2 separate regions of the Homo sapiens genome follow, and region 2 is linked to region 1. Evidence: promoter capture Hi-C in 16 types of primary human blood cells and fetal thymus (Javierre and others, 2016). All regions are on one chromosome and are shown on one strand. The core of a region is centred on a gene start or on the middle of the fragment in contact, and the rest is flanking DNA. Distances in the headings are between cores, read along the strand shown.

Region 1 (3,991 bases), core at 386-2,885:
GCCTATCCTTGAGAAGATGCAGGACAAGTAGGACTGGAAGGTCCTTGCCTGAACTCCAGAGGTGTCGGGACATGGTTGGGGGAATGCACCTCCCCAAAGCAGCAGGCCTCTGGTTGCCTCCCCCGCCTCCAGTCATGGTACTACCCCAGCCATGGGGTCCATCCCCTTCCCCCATCCCTACCACTGTGGCCCCAAGAGGGGCGGGCTCAGAGCTTTGTCACTTGCCACATGGTGTCTCCCAACATGGGAGGGATCAGCCCCGCCTGTCACAATAAAGTTTATTATGAAAACAGGCTGGTGTGGGGACATGGGGACAGATAAGTACATTTAGGTTGGGTGGCTCAGGTGAAGTAGTGCGGCTTCTTCACATTGATGCCATACTCGCTGAGGGCAGGGGTCAAGTCCTCCATGGTTAGAGTGTACTTGCGGTCCTGAGGGAAGAGGGAAGAGCACCAACTGAGCACAGGAATCCCGGACTTCAATCCCAGATGGGTGACCCTGAGTAAGTCTTACACCTCCCCTACGATTCAGTTTCCCCAAAGGGGTGGCAGGATAAGCCTCCACTGTTGTGGAAGGTAATTACTGATTCATTAAGCCTCCCCTCACACCTTGCTCTTGCTCCGGGAGCTGCCGGAGGCCGTGCCCTTCATTTTGCAGTGCTGTAGGGCATCATTGGCAATATCTGAGATGAATTTCTGGGCAGCTAAGGAGATGAGCCGAATTCTAGAGAGAAAAAACTTAGATGAGAAGGAGATGGACAACATACTGCACAAGCACCCAAAACTAACCTGCCCTGGGTTTACTCACATGCGTGGGTCTGAGGCCTCAAAGCCAGCACGGTTCAGGTAGTAACCAGTCACTGCATCTGGGATCTGAGAAATCAATTAAGAGAACTGTCAGCAGAGCGGGAGGAGGGTGAGGGAAATGGATAGGCCTGATTATCAGGAAGCTCACAGTTTGGGTGAGCAGAGGGCAAACACAGAAGAGCGACTAGGGGAGCAAATGGAAGAGAACGCTGAAAAGCACGATGTGGCTGAAAGTTTTGACAGCAGGCTAGGTGGCCTTGTTCGGGCGGAAGCCCACCGTAGGCGTGTAATCTTCCAGCTGCATCAAGAAGTCCACCAAAGGCGTGCTGGACACCACGGGCTTCACGTCTCCGTTGGCCGCGCTCGGCAGTACGTAAACCCCGTTAGATATGGCCCCCTCCGGGGGCGCCGCGCCACCCGCCGACACCGGAGCTGGAGGAGAACCAGCAAAATGAGACACAGAGGTGGGAGGCGCAGGGCCCCAGCTAGGTCTGTCTATACCCTCTGCCCTCACCCGCCGCTGGACCCAGCCCAAGACGCTTCCCTCGCCCTCACCCGTCCCGGCCCTCACCCGCCCCACGCCGCTCAGCTGGCTCCCCGGCCCGCGCCGCCAAGGGTCCCGTGCCCCCAGCAGCTGCTCCAGCCCCAGGTCCCCCCGCTGTCCCCGCGGGGCTGGCCTTGTTCTCCGCGGCGGTGCTGGAGGGCAGCGCGGCGGGAGCCGAGACCGGGGGCGCGGGGCCCGGGGCCGAGGCGGCGGAGGCCGGCGCCGCCTCGGGGTCCGCGCCGGAGCCGCTGCAGCTCATCGGGCCGGTGGGAGAGGCGGCGAACAGAGCCGCTTCCGCTTCCGCTCGCGCCGCGCACACCCCGGGGTGACGTCACGCGCCCACGACTCGCCCCGCCTGTCTCTGTTAGTGCTCTCCAGCCCGCTCCCCGCCTCCTCCCATAGTGGATCTGCGGGTTAGAGGAAATAGGCTGCAGGGCGGAGACCGAGCCTTGGCGAACTGCGCTGCCGTAGCCATTCCGCCCTAGCCTCTGCCGTGCTCCGCGGCGATTCCGTCCAGACCGGAACCAGCGTGCGTCTGGCTCTCCTCCGCCGCTCTGGGACACCTCATTCTGTCTGACGCTCAAGACCTGGCTTCGACGTTTATGGCCCTATGTCCCTCGACTACGGGTTGCCTGCCTGTCTGCATCGTTTCAAGTTCCCTTATTCAGCCTTTTAAGGATTCATAGTGGATTTGGAAAGCCCCCTCTCTTCTCCGCCAGCTGCCCCGAGAGGTGGGGGCAGCAGTGGGGCGGCACACAGTGCTGCTGTAGGAGGAGGAGGAGTTTCAGCCTGAGTCAACAACATATGCAAAAATCACAACGAATGAGAGGCGTGAGGTTTTCGGTGTAGCAGACATTTAATTCTTATTTGCCAACTCCTGAGCTAGGACCTGGGAACACAAAGTTAAATAGGACACGATTCTAGTCCTCTAGGCACCAACGGTCTTGGAAAGGAAGGCAGACAAGTAAACTGGCCATTTCAATACTACGTGGTCGTTACAATGCTAGAGGTAGGCACAGGGGGCGCAGTGCAAGGGAGGAAGGGCGTTAACATCTGCCACCTACTTCCAGGTGCCAAGCACTGTTATCAACATTATTCCACTTTATTCCCTGGTGATTATGAAAGGCAGGTATTGATATTCACACTTAACAGACGAGGAAACAGCCTCAGGGAGATAAGCTTACTTGACCCAGTCTCTCTCCTAGTCCATATCAGAACCAAGATTCAAACAGGTTTTGTTTAGAAAATCTAGGATTTTTCAGCCATACCAAAATAAAGTAGCCTCAGGGAATCAAAACATTCACGAAAGAAGGTGACTTCTGAACTGAGTCTTGCAAGAATTCTGGAAATTAACCTGGCAGTTGTATCAGGGGTGGTAAGGGGACGGAACAGCTTGAGCAAGAGTGAGAGTTCCTTGGGGTTTGGGGAGGGAGGAGGAAAAATGATTTTTTACTTAAGAACAAATAGCAAGGAAGGTTTGTGAGCTATGATTGGGGGCTGGAGGGGAAAGCCTGAATTCTATCCAGTAATCCTTGAAGGGTTTTCATCCAAGTGGCCTGATGGGATTTGCATTTTACTCTGGAAGATGACTTGGGGATTGGCAGGAAGTAAGGACACTTTTTTTCAAGAGAATATAGCCCTAAACTAAGGTAGTAGCAGTGGGGATATAAGTGGATAAGTTCTAGATATACTTGGGAAATATAATTGGAAGGACTTGTGGACTGATAAAGATATATTTAAGATGTGCAGTCAGTAGGACTTGTTGATTGAGGACTTGTTGATTGAAGGTGGGGTGAAAAGATGACACAGGTTTCTGGCTTGGTTGGAAAAAGCATAGCATCATTTACCAAGAAGAAACGAGATGGAATTGTTTGGGGTTGGGAAGGTGGACGATGAAATGTTGAGTATCACGCATCTTACATTTGAGGTATCAATCATTATTGGATAGAAAGTCTTATTTAGTGAGATGGTAATGGTTGTAGATGTCAGTGATTTGTTCCAGGGGACAATGAGTAAACTGAGAAGAGCAAAAATCTACAAATGGAGCAATGAAGGTCAGCATTCCATGAAGAAGCAGAAATTGATGAGAGAGGAAGACAAGAGTAGTCAGAGAAGTTAAGACCTGGAAGCTAAGTAAGGAGAGGGAGTGGGCAACTATGATGGAAAGGCCATAAAGCAAAGATTGAGAAGTATGCACTGGAGGCCATTGTTTCTGGATGTCAGGGTAGGAAAGAGTAAACGGTGACAGTAGAGGTCTCCTTGCAGTGAATTGGGGAATGAATATCAAGTGAAATAGTGCACAGAGTCTGTATACAACCCTTTGGAAAAGCCTGATTGAAAAGAGAAAGATGAGATGCGGAGGGAGAGGCATTCAAAAAATGCTAGTTACAGCATCTTATTGAGGAATCTAAGGCAGGAGTAGGGAGACCTGAGTATGATGGAGCATGGTAGGGTTGGGAGTCAAGTCAAGCTCACAGCATTTCAGGGTTAGGGAGATAAGCTGTCTGCAGCAGTCAATAGTTGAGGGTTCAGCAGGGCTTCCAACAGGGCAGAATAAGGGACTGAACTGCCAGCTTCAGGGCAGGGGACAAGCCATCTCTCCTGATAGGAAAGGGTCAGGGGTTGAGTAGAGTCTTCAGCA
Region 2 (3,991 bases), core at 398-2,897, 120 kb after region 1:
ATTGAAGCTCCTTAGTATATAAAGCAAACATTAATAGATCTAAAGGGAGAAATAGACTGCAATATAATAATAGTGGGGGTCTTCAACACCCTACTCTCAGTAATGGACAGATCATCCAGACAGAAAATCAGCAAAGAAAAAGCAGAGTTAACCTACACATTAGATCTAATAGACCTAAATGACATTTACAGAACATTTCACCACACTTCCGCAGAATGTATATTCCTCTCATTAGCACATGGAATATTCTCTAGGACAGACCACAAGCAATGCCACAAAACCAATCTCAACAAATTCAAAGAAATCAAGATCATATTAAGTGTATTTTCTGACCACAATGAATAAAACTGGAAATAAATAAGAGAAACCTTGGAAACTATACAAACACATGGAAGTTATGTGTTCCTAACTACTGGCTAATGAAGAAATTAAGAAGGAATTTAAATAATTTCTTGAAATAAAGGAAAGTGAAAAGACAACATACCAAAATCAATGGGCTACAGCAAAAGAAGTACTAAGAGGGAAGTTTATAGCAGTAAATGCCTACATCAAAAAAATGGAAAGATTTCAAATAAACAACCTAATAATGCACCTCAGGAAACTAGAAAAACAAGAACAAACCAAAGCTAAAAATAGTAGAAGGAAAGAAATCATAAAGATCAGAGCAAGAATAAATGAAATTGAGGCTAAAAACATACTAGTATAAAAAATGTCTTGAAGAGTTTCCCCAATGTTTTCTTCTGGGAGTTTCATAGTTTTAGGTCTTATATTTAAGAATTGGAAGGGTGGTGAGGGGGATGATGAGGGGTTGGTTAATTTTATGTTATGTTAATTTCACTTCAATAAAGATTATGTAGATTTATACGTAAATAAAGTATATAAAAACAAGGGTAGTAAAACTCAAAATCCATCACTTTCTAATTATTTTCTATAATCTATGTTGCTGAATCCAAGTCTATGTTTTTTTCATTGCATATATGTGTGTGTGTGTAAAGAAGAGAGAGAGGGTATATTATGTAATGATGTGTTACTTTGCGTCTCTCACAATTTTAAGCTGGAGTTGGTAATTTGAAAGTGGCCACAGAGAGGATATTTATGTAATAGAAACAGGCAAATGCTACAAAACAGGAATTTTATTTTCTGAAGAGCTGGTTAAAACATTTACAACACACTCTTGATTGTAATCCTTCATAGTCTTCTCTGTTTCCCCTTGGCTCACTGACTGTAATCCCCAGAAACAGAGATTATGGCTTGTTCAGCTTTGAGTCCTGAAGACAGAACACGGTGCTGGCGATGACTGAGCACTTTTAAGAACTGACCAAAGAAGGTATGTTCTGTAAACTTTCGTATCTTTAGGCTTCCACGTTTCTTTCCTTTACTGCCTGTTTTCTAGTTGATTTGGGAAAATTCCAGCTTTATTCTGAATAAACTAAAGGAAGTTGTCTACATAAATCTTTTCCTAGAGGAAAACAAGAGCCCAGTGATCCAGGAAGCCATCTCCAGCTTGGACAAAGTGACATTTGGAACTGTGGGGCAGAGAGGGAAAGTCAGATGGAGAGTCAGTGACAGCTAGGATTGCTGATCTTTTCCTGCCAGGCATTGCTCTGATCCTTTCCTAAAGTTAGTGTATCCTCAGCTGCAGAGAATGGTTTCTTTCTAGGGACCCTGCTGTGTTCTGCTAAAAACTGGACTCCTTTCTGAGCTATATAGGAAATGTAGACAAAATATTACATGGATACATATTCCATTATCATTAAGGAAAAATTCTGTTCAATTTTTTCTCTACTTTTTCCCCTAGTAAACTAGGCGTGCTCTTTTTTTCGTGATAACACAATGCCAGAGTCGTGTCTCAAAAAAATTAAGTCTTCTCAACGAAAAACTTCTAGTAGAATGGAATCTTAGAAAGATACAGGGAGAAGATTTCCTCTCTTCCTTATATTTACAGAGAAACTTCAGTCCAACTAGAAATATGTCAATTTAAGAACAGTAACAATGAATATTATTCTTATTACTACTATGCAATCTCCGAATGTATGTATAACTGCTAGCTTCTTTTTGTCTCTCTTAATATACATTTCTCCTTGGAAGACTTATTTGAACAAAGGAGTCTTAAAAGTCTCCTGGACTTGGCTGGGCTCGGTGGCTCATGCCTGCAATCCCAGTACTTTCGGAGGCAGAGGTGGGCAGATCACTTGAGGTCAGGGGTTCAAGACCAGCCTGGCCAACATTGTGAAATCCTGTCTCTACTAAAAATACAAAAATTAGCTGGGGGTGGTGGCACACACCTATAAACCCAGCTACTAGGAAGGCTGAGGCAGAAGAATCACTTGAACTTGGGAGGTGGAGGCTGCAGTGAGCTGAGATTGCGCCACTGCACTTCAGCCAGGGCTACAGAGCGAGACTCTGTCTCAAAAAAAAAAAAAACAAAAAAAAAAAACTCTTGGACTTCAGAAATTCTTTCCATGCCCAATGGAAATAACACAATTTCAAAAATAAGACTGAAATTCTGAGTGCTTGTCTTACTTGAGCATTTATTACATCTATATTAAATTTAGAATGGATATCACTGTGTTCTTAAATGGTATGGGTACTATAAGAATATCAAATCAGAAGTGTGTTAGTGACATTTCTTCTTAAAATGAAACGAACAAATGAAGGACTTCGTTAGCTTTTGTGTTTAATAAAGCATCTGAGAGTTTTAAGAACTTAAGTTGGGTACATAACGAACTGAAGGCAGAAATAAAGATGTTCTTTGAAACCAATGAGAACAAAGACACAACATACCAGAATCTCTGGGACACATTCAAAGCAGTGTGTAGAGGGAAATTTATAGCACTAAATGCCCACAAGAGAAAGCATGAAAGATCTAAAATTGACACCCTAACATCACAATTAAAAGAACTAGAGAAGCAAGAGTAAACACATTCAAAAGCTAGCAGAAGGCAAGAAATAACTAAGATCAGAGCAGAACTGAAGGAAATAGAGACACAAAAAACCCTTCAAAAAATCAATGAATCCAGGAGCTGGTTTTGTGAAAAGATCAACAAAATTGATAGACCGCTAGCAAGACTAATAAAGAAGAAAAGAGAGAAGAATCAAATAGACGCAATAAAAAATGATAAAGGGGATATCACCACCGATCCCACAGAAATACAAACTACCATCAGAGAATACTATAAACACCTCTACGCAAATAAACTAGAAAATCTAGAAGAAATGGATAAATTCCTCGACCCATACATCCTCCCAAGACTAAACCAGGAAGTTGAATCTCTGAATAGACCAATAACAGGCTCTGAAATTGAGGCAATAATTAATAGCATACCAACCAAAAAAAGTCCAGGACCAGATGGATTCACAGCCGAATTCTACCAGAAGTACAAGGAGGAGCTGGTACCATTCCTTCTGAAACTATTCCAATCAATAGAAAAAGAGGGAATCCTCCCTAACTCATTTTATGAGGCCAGCATTATCCTGATACCAAAGCCTGGCAGAGACACAACCAAAAAAAAGAATTTTAGACCAATATCCTTGATGAACATCGATGCAAAAATCCTCAATAAAATACTGGCAAACCGAATCCAGCAGCACATTAAAAAGCTTATCCACCATGATCAAGTGGGCTTCATCCCTGGGATACAAGGCTGGTTCAACAAACGCAAATCAATAAATGTAATCCAGCATATAAATAGAACCAAAGACAAAAACCACATGATTATCTCAGTAGATGCAGAAAAGGCCTTTGACAAAATTCAACAACGCTTCATGCTAAAAACTCTCAATAAATTAGGTATTGATGGGACATATCTCAAAATAATAAGAGCTATCTATGACAAACCCATAGCCAATATCATACTGAATGGGCAAAAACTGGAAGCATTCCCTTTGAAAACTGGCACAAGACACGGATGCCCTCTCTCACCACTCCTATTCAACACAGTGTTGGAAGTTCTGGCCAGGGCAATCAGGCAGGAGAAAGAAATAAAGGGTA

What was found. The method cuts DNA at HindIII sites, captures the fragments that hold promoters and counts their contacts. A CHiCAGO score of 5 or more calls a contact.
Region 2: a fragment that was not itself captured here is called in contact with the fragment with the promoter of TAF10 in region 1 in 3 of 17 cell types (activated CD4 T cells, non-activated CD4 T cells and total CD4 T cells); the score reaches 9.7 in activated CD4 T cells.

Annotation. Positions count from the first base shown.
Region 1 is chr11:6,610,581-6,614,571 of GRCh38, forward strand. It overlaps TAF10 (TATA-box binding protein associated factor 10), which reads right to left and starts at 1,636. Exons shown (of 5, transcript NM_006284.4): 1 at 1,378-1,636; 2 at 1,084-1,238; 3 at 808-872; 4 at 609-723; 5 at 1-431. The coding sequence starts at 1,609. The coding sequence ends at 342. TPP1 (tripeptidyl peptidase 1) reads right to left here. Exons shown (of 13, transcript NM_000391.4): 13 at 2,188-3,991. The coding sequence ends at 3,966. ILK (integrin linked kinase) reads left to right here. Exons shown (of 13, transcript NM_004517.4): 13 at 1-290. The coding sequence ends at 31. RefSeq lists enhancers at 251-839, 840-1,427, 1,883-2,012, 2,063-2,112 and silencers at 1,283-1,482, 1,493-1,592. The HindIII fragment of the contact is 6,165 bases long and covers 1-2,527 here.
Region 2 is chr11:6,727,162-6,731,152 of GRCh38, forward strand. No RefSeq gene overlaps it. Among named protein-coding and RNA genes, the nearest start is that of OR2AG2, 43 kb to the right of the region's middle. The HindIII fragment of the contact is 3,901 bases long and covers 1-3,598 here.